2 separate regions of the Homo sapiens genome follow, and region 1 is linked to region 2. Evidence: promoter capture Hi-C in 16 types of primary human blood cells and fetal thymus (Javierre and others, 2016). All regions are on one chromosome and are shown on one strand. The core of a region is centred on a gene start or on the middle of the fragment in contact, and the rest is flanking DNA. Distances in the headings are between cores, read along the strand shown.

Region 1 (5,263 bases), core at 2,607-5,106, 2.8 Mb after region 2:
ATTCTTGAAAATTGCTGAATGGATATAAAGTGTTCTTAGTGCAAAGATGATGACTATGTGAGATAGTATGTTATGTGTGGTGACATGTTACCATATGAGGTATGTGTGTTAATATGTTACTATGTGAGGTAATGTGTGTGGTGATATGTTACCATATGAGGTAGTATATGTGTTAATATGTTACTATGTGAGGTAATGTGTGTGGTAATATGTTACTATGTGAGTTAGTACATTGATTAGCTAGATTTAGTCATTCCATAGTGAATATATACTTCAAAACATCATGTTGTACAGGATAAATCTATACAATTTTATCTGTTGATTTAAAATTTATTTATTTATTTATTTATTGAGATAGAGTCTCGCTCTGTTGCCCAGGCTGGAGTGCAGTGGGATAATCTCGGTTCACTGCAACCTCTGCCTTCTAGGTTCAAGCGATTCTCCTGCCTCAGCCTCGCGAGTAGCTGGAACTACAGGTGTGCACCACCACACCCAGCTAATTTTGCATTTTTAGTAGAGATGGGGTTTCACCATGTTGGCCAGGCTGGTCTCAAACTCCTGACCTCAGGTGATCCCCACACCTTGGCCTCTCAAAATGCTGGGATTACAGGTGTGAGCCATGCCTGGCCTAAATTTTTTTTTAAAGAAAATATGCTATTTTGAAGAAAATATGTATGATGACATGTTACTATATGATGTATATGGTGATATGTTACTATGTGAGGTAATATGTATAGTAATATGTTACTATGTGAGGTATTGTGTGTGGTGATATGTTACTATGTGAAGTAGTATGTTACTATGATGTGAGGTAGTAAATTAATTAGCTAGATTTAGTCATTCCACAGTGAATATATACTTCAAAGCATCATATTGTACAGGATAAATCTCTACAAGTTAAATCTATTTAAATCTAAAAAGATAAATCTATTTAATTTTGTTTTTAAAAAAGAAAATATTACGCTGTTTTGAAGAAAACAGGCACATTTCTAAAACTGACTAATCAAAAACTATTAGCACTGCAAAGGGCTCTAAGCACAAAAGCGGTCAGTTATTTTTTTGATAAATAGTATACATTTCTTATTCAATAAAACCTTCTGAAATGCTACTCAGAGGCCAAGTAAAGCTGCAGCCTAATTTCCTAAGACTTCAATCTTTGCTTTGTTCCTGAATTTTCTCTTGCCTACTTCCAGTCCCAGAGAATGGGGTGCAGGGAGGAGGGTGGAGGAGGGTAGAAGAGGGGACAGAGGAGGGATGCGAGGTCAAGGGTGTGGGGGAGAAGAGCAGGACCGATAATGCAGAGCAGCTAATTCCTGAAAACTATAAAGTGGGTGGCTTTGAAGGCCTGAAGGGCTGTGCCCAGGTGTGCAATGGAGAAAGGGGTTTGCCAGCTCTTTGCTGGGCACCAGGGATCTAGGGTTCTGAGAGGAGTCCCTTATCCAAGGTGGACCCGGACAAGGAGATAACGAAAACATAGGTAGCATCCAACAGCATGCAGCACTATGGCATGCCAGCAGCCGTGCTGGGCGTTTTACAGATCTCTTTCAGGCTCAGAACAACCTTGCACATGAGGCGCTGTTTTCAGGCCCATTTTAGGGATGAGAAAACCGAGGTGATTAAGAGATTTACGAACTTTGCAGGCTGGGCGTGGTGGCACACGCTTGTCATCTCAGCACTTTGGGAGGCCAAGATGGGCAGATCACCTGAGATCAGGAGGTCAAGATCAGCCTGGCCAACCAACATGGTGAAACTCCCTCTCTACTAAAAATACAAAAATTAGCCAGGCGTGGTGGCGTGCACCTGTAATCCCAGCTAATTGGGAGGCTGAGGTGGGAGAATTGCTTGAACCCAAGAGGCGGAGGTTGCAGTGAGCTGAGATCACGCCACTGCACTCCAGCCTGGGCGACAGAGCGAGAATCCTTCTGAAAAAAAAGAAAAACTTGTTCGAGGTTCCAGAGCTAGTGGGAGATTGCACATTTGAGAAGGGTTAACCCACTTCTTGCCTTGCTTTCCCCATCCACTGGGGGGAAATCTCCTACCAGCGCCCTGCTTGTGTGAGGGGCAGAGCTCCAGTAGAGCTCCAGAGGGAATTTCTCACCCCTACAGCCAGATAGTGTTTACAATCAGATTGAATTAAATTTAAATAGTTTTTAAAAAGTGACCTTAATAATCAACAGGCAAAAGTGGCTCTGGGTGAAACAAAAGAAACTAGAGACCCCGTTGGTTGAGTTTGTAGTATTGTCTAGATTTCCTATATTATTGTTTGTTAGACAATTCTCTTTTATTTATTTATTTATTTTTATTTATTTATTCATTATTGAGATGGAGTCTTGCTCTGTTGCCCAGGCTGGAGTGCAGTGGCACGATCTCGGCTCAATGCAACCTCCACCTCCCAGGTTCAAGTGATTCTCCCTGCCTCAGCCTCCCCAGTAGCTGGGATTACAGGCACCCACCACCACGCCTGGCTAATTTTTTGTATTTTTAGTAGAGACAGGGTTTCGCCATGTTGGCCAGACTGGTCTCGAACTCCTGACCTCAGGTGATCCGCCCACCTCAGCCTCCCAAAGTGCTGGGATTACAGGCGTGAGCCACCGCACACGGCCATATCTGATAATTTTAAAAAATATATGTAAGTGCTTCTCCTGTGCTTATTGGCAGAGGTGGGAACAGACACTGGTCCCCTGGTTTCCATTTAAGTATTTCCCCCTGGAACCTGGATTTCTATCATGTCCTGAGTTCACGGCATTTCTGCCTGGCTCAGACCGAACACAATCCACACAAGTCTACTTCCACGTCCACAAAACTCCAGCTGATTCCTTGGCATTTTTTTTTTAAACAAAATACTTTTCATTATTCTGCTTAAAAAGCCTGTTAATATGGCTTATTTTCTTTTTGTACTTGGATAAGCTTAAAATGACTGCTTCACCAGCTTTTCCTTGGAAGTTCCCCACAGCAAGGGAAACTGACTGTGCTCACGGGTGTGGGGGTGGTAGAGTTTCGATATTTGTCCTTGCCCAAATCTCATGTTGAACTGGAGTCCCCAGTGTTGGAGGTGGGGTCTGGTTGGAGGTGACTGGATCACAGGGGCAGATTTCTCACGCATGGTTTAGCACCATCATCTTGGCACTGTCCCCATGATAGTGAGTGAGTTCTCATGAGATCCGGGGCCATTTAAAAGTGTGTGGTATTTCCCTGCTCTCTCTCTTGCTCCTGCTCCCCCTCTGCCATGATGGTACACTCCCTGAGGCCTTTCCAGAAACTGAGCAGATGCCTGTGTCATGCTTCCTGTACAGCCTGCAGAACCATGACTCAATGAAACCTCTTTTCTTTATAAATTACCCAGACTCAGATATTTCTTTTTCTTTCTTTCTTTCTTTTTTTGAGATGGAGTCTCGCTGTTCCTCAGGCTGGAGCGCAGTGGCACAATCTCGGCTCACTGCAACCTCCGCCTCCTGGTTTCAAGTGTTTCTCCTGCCTCAGCCTCCTGAGTAGCTGGGATTACAGGTGTGTGCCACCATGCCTGGCTAATTCTTTTGTATTTTTAGTAGAGATGGGGTTTCACTATGTTGGTCAGGCTTGTCTCGAACTGCTGACCTCGTGATCCTCCCACCTTGGCCTCTCAAAGTGCTGGGATTACATGCTTGAGCCACCATACCCAGCCTCAGGTATTTCGTTATAGCAATGCAAGAATGGACCAATACAAGGGGTGAGCCAGAAACTCCATTCCCAGCCCATTATTTCTGTAAAGTGACATCATTTATCTTAAAACTTCAGGTCATGTCTGACAGGTCACTTGACACTAACGATGACAGCTAAAACTTACTGAATTCTTCCTTGCCAAGTACCTGGGTTATATAGGTGCTTTACATTTGTTACCCTGTGAAATGTTCATAGCAGCTGTATGAAGCAGTTACTAATATTTTGTCCTCATTTTACAAGTGAAAAGACTGAAGTACAGAGAGGGCAAGTAACGAGGCCAAAGTCACAGCTGGCAAGGAGAGAGCCTGGATTCAACGTGGACAGCTAGCTTTAGAGCCTAGGCCGTTAACTTCTATGCTCTAGTATTTTCACATTATACTGGGGGTGGGATAGTCTAAAACAGTGGCCCTTGGTGGGGGGCAATTTGGCACCCCCAATCCTGCCAGGATAGTAGGCAATTCTGAAGACATTTGTGGTGTGTGTGCTACTGGCATACTGGACAAAGGGACAAAGGTGTGTGTGAGCTTGTGTTTGTGTGTGCTACTGGCATCTGGTGGGTAGAGGCCAAGGATGATGGTAAACACACCACATTATACAGGACAGCCTCCACACCAAAGAATTATTCAGCCCCAAATGCCAATAGCACCAAGGTTAGGTAACCCTAGTGTGAAAGCGTTTTAAACTGCTTGCTAGCTAAATTCCTTCATTTTCTTGTTAAACCTTCTCCAAGAAACACCATGTTATCCTGTGGCTTGTGGTTGTATGCCTCTGACATCACAATTTTGAAAGCCCTTTTGAGAATTTTGGCATCAAAGTGTGTGCAAGTGACAAAATCTCGTGAGGTCTTCTGATGTCCTGAGGTTTAAGGGCAGGAAATTTTTTGTCCACCTACCTTCTCTGACCGGACGGTGAACAACAAATGGAGTTTTCCTTCTTTAGCCACCAATGGCAAAAGGACGGAGTATTTGTTATATGGCAAGTGAGAATATTTGCCTCCAATATCATACTTTCTTAAGCGGGCCTTAGCATCATCTAGCAAACTGTTTCTAAAATAAAAACAAACCAGACAGACATTTTAGCAAGCAGAGTTATGGTAAAAAGCTTATAGTCCTGCCTCTGTTTCTGCTTTGTTGTGTATTTAGGAGTTTGCCATTTCTGACTCTCTGTGTATTTTTCAATAACACGACAGAAATGATACTATCTAAATTGCGTGGTTGTTCGCAAGATGAAAATGACAAAAAAACCTTCTAAGCACACAGTTTAGTACACAGGTTCTCTTTGAAACATAAAGTATGGTAAAATGTTTTTTCAATAATGCAACAGTTGAATTTTGAAACCCATAATTATATTCAGAGAAGACAGGTTTGATGAAAAAGTCATTGTTAAGGTTAGAAGGTTAGAAGACTACCTTCTGTTAAGCTGGCCCTTATGTTCTCAAACTCTTATGTCTTCAACTGCTTATAATAGTGGTTCCCAAGCTTTAGCAGCAACAGAATCACCTGGAGCGCTGGCTGTCACATAGACTGCGAGGTTCAGTCCCAGACTGTGACTCAGTAACTCTGGT
Region 2 (5,554 bases), core at 1,705-4,204:
GTGCCAAAGTAAATGTGATGTGGATTCTTAACAAGGATCGTGCAGCAAGAGCAAGTTTCTGGTAAGTCTACAGATTTCATAGTTGGAAATATGTAGGGCCTTCTTATGCTATATCCACAAAGACTATATTATAAATGATATCGTTAATTCTCAAAGATTTTTAAATAAAATATGTTCAAGGAACAAGTTCCATTTAAAATAAACACTGAAATTCTGTATGGTTCATAATGTTGAAACGCAAACAACCCACCAACAATGATATTCTCCCTATCTTCTATATGATAGTTTTATTGGCACTTCTGAAATGTTGGAAGAGAATTACCAAAGCTTTAAAAAGTAAACAATGTATAGTGCTTCTTAGGAGTATATAGAGATTTTTAGACATGTCTTATTCATATTTATGCCCCCAGATCTTAGCAGAGTGTTTGGCATATAACAGATACTCAATAGATGTTTGGTAAGTGAATGCCAGAGCTAAAATATATAAATATATTTTTGATGTCAAATTCGAAGATGTTTGTCTTAAGGACTAACACGGCAAACAGGTTCCTGGTTGGCTTCTGTGTGTCAAGAAGACAGCCTGTGATATATTTACCTTCTGCATTTACAACCATAGTTCCAATAACCCCTTTATGACTCTGGATCCTCTTTAAGGTTTCCTCCACCTCTGCCTGAAAGAGACCAGGAAGATAATTAACCAAAAGGGCCCTGTGGTAACTTCAACCCTAAGGAGAATAATGTTTAGCAAGATACCTACTCTCCTATCTCCTTAACCTAAGGTGCCAGGTGTGATAATCTCAGATTTTTAAAAGACAGCTTAGAAATTGTCAAGTCCCACATAAATACCTACGTAAGACCTCCTGGATACAATCCTGATGAATCTCTTGGCTTGAACCCTTGTAGAGACAGAGAGCTTACTGCCTCACAGGAGTTCACTCCATTTTTATCTGTTTCCATTTACTAGAAAAGTATTCTTTACATTGCATGGAAATTTGTCCCAGATTATCTTTCATTCATTGACCCTGCTGTATTCAAATGAAAATTCCTTTTCTACATTACAGTGCTTTAAATATTTATAGAGCTATATCATGGCCTCCCTCTGTCTAAAAGTAGTCCTTATTGAGAAATCTTATTTTCATTAATGTGACCTAATCAGTTCGGATGATTAAATTTAAAGGATAGTCTATAAAAACAAAGTATTCCAGGATTCTAGGATTTTCTTGATAACTATAGCTTGCGTCTCAGTGCAAGCTGAATGTTCAACTATGAGTGATTATTCTGGAATCTATTATTGTGTTTTAAACTCATTCGGAATCTTATGTGTAGAGTGTATTGTATGTTTTCTTCCCCTGTAGAAAACTCAAAGACAAGAACGATCTTTTCCAAACCTGCAAATTTTTCATGACTGAGCAATCACTGGATATTTTGAATTCTGCAAATTCTCTTGATGAGGGTTTGCTATATTCTTTTTTCCTCAGTATTGCACAGGTGAACATTTTGTTACTTCAAGATAGTTTTCCTTTGTACTTGGTATGGGCAGGAGCACTTATTTTCTCTATTTCAGCATCAGAGCCAAGGTTTTCTTGACTTTAGGCATTTGTGTACTAGATTCATGATTCTTGCCATTATGAATGCCATGTATACTATTTATCTAGGTGTTCTTTAAATTATCTCACTGCTAAAAGCTTAAATAAATGCATTTTAAGAGGAAATCGTATGTCACTACCACAAATGGAAACCTGACGTTATTCCTCATAAATAGAAATAACTGTAAAACAAACAAAATGAACAAAATGAAGAGAGAGCCTATCATTAAATTCTACTGCAATGAAAGCTCTGAGCCTGAGGCCTGCTCTTCGGATGAAAAAATGGAAATTTCCAAATGACAGTGGTATTAAGGACCTAATAGCAACAGAAATTTTCTCCTGTATGTAGTCTGAAGGTTGAACAAAATGGAAGAGGAATAACTTTCTCACGATGTGATTCACTCTTATTTAGCATTTCTCGGCCATCTTATGTAGCAACGAATGTTTGCATCTGACTTTGAGAAACACTACACTAAACCGTAAGCGTTGAACAGGGGATCAATAATTCACTGCATTTTGGGCAATCTTTAAGACGATGTCCACAGCTTCTTACAGCCACTGTGTCCTTATTTATCTTTCTCCCTTTACTTATCTCCCAAACTCCTTTCTTTTCTTTCCCTGGCCTTTCCATTTCTCCACCCAGTTGTTTCTCTTCTCATGATTTGTAAGTGCTCCTAGTATAATTTCTTAATCCCCATCTCCAATCCCCGTTTCATTCTTCTCTTAACGCCCTTTGCTTTCCACAGTCTCTACTTTTTTTTTTCTTACCTCTTTTTCTGGGGGGGAGGGGGGCGGGTCTCCCATCACTTCTTTCCTTTTTCTTTATTTCCCTTTCTTCTTTCTCAGTATCTTCCCTTCTCACCCTTCCATTCCCTTGCTTTCCCTGTCCCACCTCTTCCTTCTCTCTAAGGGTCTGATTTTTTTTCCTCTCCATCTCGGCCTCCCGCCCCCTCTTTGGAAACTTTCCTGGCTCCCCGGATTTCTCACTCCCCTGAGCATTCTTCATCCTCTGAATCTCTCTCTTCCCTTTCTCAACATCACCCCTCCTTATGTACCATCCCCGCGAAATCAATTCCCAAAACAGCTTCCAGTCATCTAGACATCTTCTTGCCCCTTTCCAAGGTCTCCCTCTCGCCCCTCCAGGAAGATCCTGGAGCCACCAGCCTCCGCCGCGGCCCCTGGACCGCCCGTGCCTGGGTGGGCCCCAGAAGCTGGGTGCGAAGGTCCTTGACGGTCGGCGTGCTTGGAACGGCGGGGCGTGGACGGAGACCCCAGATTTACCATCGCGGAGGCCGCGAAACTCTGGGCTCAGGCCGGCGGCACAGCCTCCCGGGATGTCAACAACGCTACCCGCCGTTGCTAGGAGACAAAAAAGGAAGTGGCCCCACGGAAGCGTCAGGGCTGCGCCTGCGCGCTCGCGAGTCGGCTTTTTCGCCCTGACCGCGCTCCTGATGCCTCCCGGCCGCCGTAGGCGAAGGTTCGCGGAAGAGGGGAGCAGGCGCTCACCTGAGGTTCGCCCAATCCTGGAGCAGTGGGTCCCGGGAGGGAAGAGGGAAGTGGGTCAGGCTCCCGGCCTGTGTTTGTCCATTCATTCATTCATTGAGGCACGAATTAATGTGATAACCACTTATTCGTTCAAAAACTGCTGATTCACCACCCACCAGGTGCCAGGGAGACGGACAAAATGCACCAAACAAAATGCACGAAACAGTACCGGAAGCAGTAATGTCCACGTGTGATACTTGCCCTGGAGCAAGTAAGGAGGGGACAGGACCATCTGACTTCGGGGTTGGGCTGCTCTAGGGGTTTGGTGATAGTCTTAGCTGCCTGTGACCGTCCATTAGTACTGCCCTGTTCAGGGCAGATACTGTTCGCTCGCCTCCCAGTAGTTTTTATATTGAAGAAAAATATATCAGAGCATCAAATAGTACAACCTTATGTACTTAAAAAAATTACTTTCTATCTGTCTACTCTAAGATCAGTAGAGTAAGCACAGTTGCACATTTTATGTTCTCACCTAGTTATAGCACCCTCTTCCTGTTCTCAACTCCATTGAAGAGTTGCTACTTGTCAGTATTTCTGTTAGTTGTCAGTATCCATTAGGATCTGTATTTTTGCCATTTTAAAAATCAACAGTTCTGAGTTACTAAAAAATTGCAAATGGTAGTTCCGGAGGTTCTATACGTTGCCATAGAAGAGCATTCCATTGGGTGTTTAAGGAACTGTTGGAGGAAACACGTTAAAGATCAGTTAGGAATGATCAGAAGTCACTTGACCTTTTGAGGGACATTGATAATATCCTTATAGCCTAGGAGGAAAAGAGCCACTATTGTACGACGAAGCACAGCAGGAAAATTTTATGGCTGGAGTCGTGTTATGACTTCCTGAGGTTAGAGGAGGACAAATATTGATTACAAAATACAAGCTGTAAGTTGGGAATGCATCTTCATAGGGATCATGCCATAACAACTTCCTGTAATACCGATTCTGTTTGTGCATCCATTTCCAGAAAGTAGTCTCACACTGAACAAGGCATACATCGTGCTAGGAATGTCAACTGGATTCTGAATGGTCCATGTTAGGGGTGCTCTGGGACAGTTTTGAACTCATTGGCAGGCTTGGACTCGATGATCCATTTCAACTCCACATCTGTCATTTTATTATATTAACTACAGAAATACTCTGAGAAACTGTAGTTCTGCTCTAATTTTTGTTGAGGTGTGGGTGATTCTGATCACTGTAGTTCTCTCCTTTTTTTCCCTCCAAGAAATCTGTATATCTCAGCCAGTTCACTATTACTAGCCAAAGAATCCCGCTTGACTCTCAACACCTGGTACTCCAACAAAGTTGCTTTGGAAAGGACTGCTATAGCTGTGGGGAAGGAGTCTGAGTCTGGTGTGTGCGTGTGCGTGTGCATTTGTGTGCTTGTGTGTGTATGCATGCATGTGTGTACAGATCTGGCTCTTACCTGATTGACTATAGCTACCATTTTGCAGTAATACAAATAATAGGTCTTTACAGAAATACTGGCTGAGTTGAATGAAGAGTGATTCTTGGGTTCTCTGGGTGTTTCTGATCAAGGAGATTCCACTTGATTGTGTAGCCGTTTGTTTTTCTTACAAAAATCAGTGACAGTGCACCATGTCTGATATGTCAATCAGCTTTAATGAAGGAACCAACTGCATATGCATGGAGTGTGAATTTCCTTGTTTCTGGAGTCAGGATGTCAAGCTCATTCAATAGCTGACAGCTGTAATTAGAGCAAAGAACGATTCTAGCATAAAACGCACTGACGGGAGAACCCAACTGCTGAAAAAGAAATAAGAAGTAGCCAAACTGACTTCCAACCAACAGTCAAGTTTGACTCTGTGCACAGAAAATCAATGAGGAGAACTTGAGCCATTTCCCCTTTATCAATTTTTCACTTCTAATTATTCCTTGGAGGTAGCTCGGTTTAATTTTCATGCCTTTTTTGGACCTGTAATGAATATCCAGAGCTGTGCTATATAAAGTGTCTTTGCAATGTCTTACATGTTTCCTACTCCATCCCCAATATATGTGAATTCCCCTTTTACCCTCTCCTCTTTCTCCCATCCCCTCGGCCTTTCTTTTTGACTCACAATAAGTGCTAAATAACTTTGAACGTAAGTGAAAATATTAGTGAATAATAGTTTTTGCAAGTACTCTGACTTAACCCCAAAAGTGATACATGCAGAGACCAAGTCCACTATTTTTCACATATGATTTTGTTAGAAGGAGATGATTTTCTTCTGGGAGTCTCTCTTGCTGTTTGATACTTTGCTACTGCTCTCTGGTTAGCTTGAAGAAATCCAGATAACTTAATGATCTTGAGTTTTTTTTTTGGTATTTTCTATACCAACCCATATAGCTATCTTTGGCATTCTTGGCAGTTGGCAAATATTATGAACTGGGCTGTAGAATAAATTTTGTGCCCATTTTCTCATAAG

What was found. Contacts are between HindIII fragments. The CHiCAGO score rates a contact against its expected background, and 5 or more counts as called.
Region 1: a fragment that was not itself captured here is called in contact with the fragment with the promoter of DYNLRB2 in region 2 in 2 of 17 cell types (naive B cells and total B cells); the score reaches 6.4 in naive B cells.

What each region holds. Positions count from the first base shown.
Region 1 is chr16:77,724,913-77,730,175 of GRCh38, reverse strand. NUDT7 (nudix hydrolase 7) reads right to left here. Exons shown (of 4, transcript NM_001105663.3): 2 at 4,592-4,745. Among named protein-coding and RNA genes, the nearest start is that of NUDT7, 5.0 kb to the right of the region's middle. The HindIII fragment of the contact is 1,893 bases long and covers 2,910-4,802 here.
Region 2 is chr16:80,538,393-80,543,946 of GRCh38, reverse strand. DYNLRB2 (dynein light chain roadblock-type 2) reads right to left here and starts at 2,954. Exons shown (of 4, transcript NM_130897.3): 1 at 2,868-2,954; 2 at 596-671. The coding sequence starts at 2,870. All of the region lies in intron 1 of DYNLRB2-AS1 (DYNLRB2 antisense RNA 1), which reads left to right. RefSeq lists an enhancer at 2,814-2,903. The HindIII fragment of the contact is 6,420 bases long and covers 1,688-5,554 here.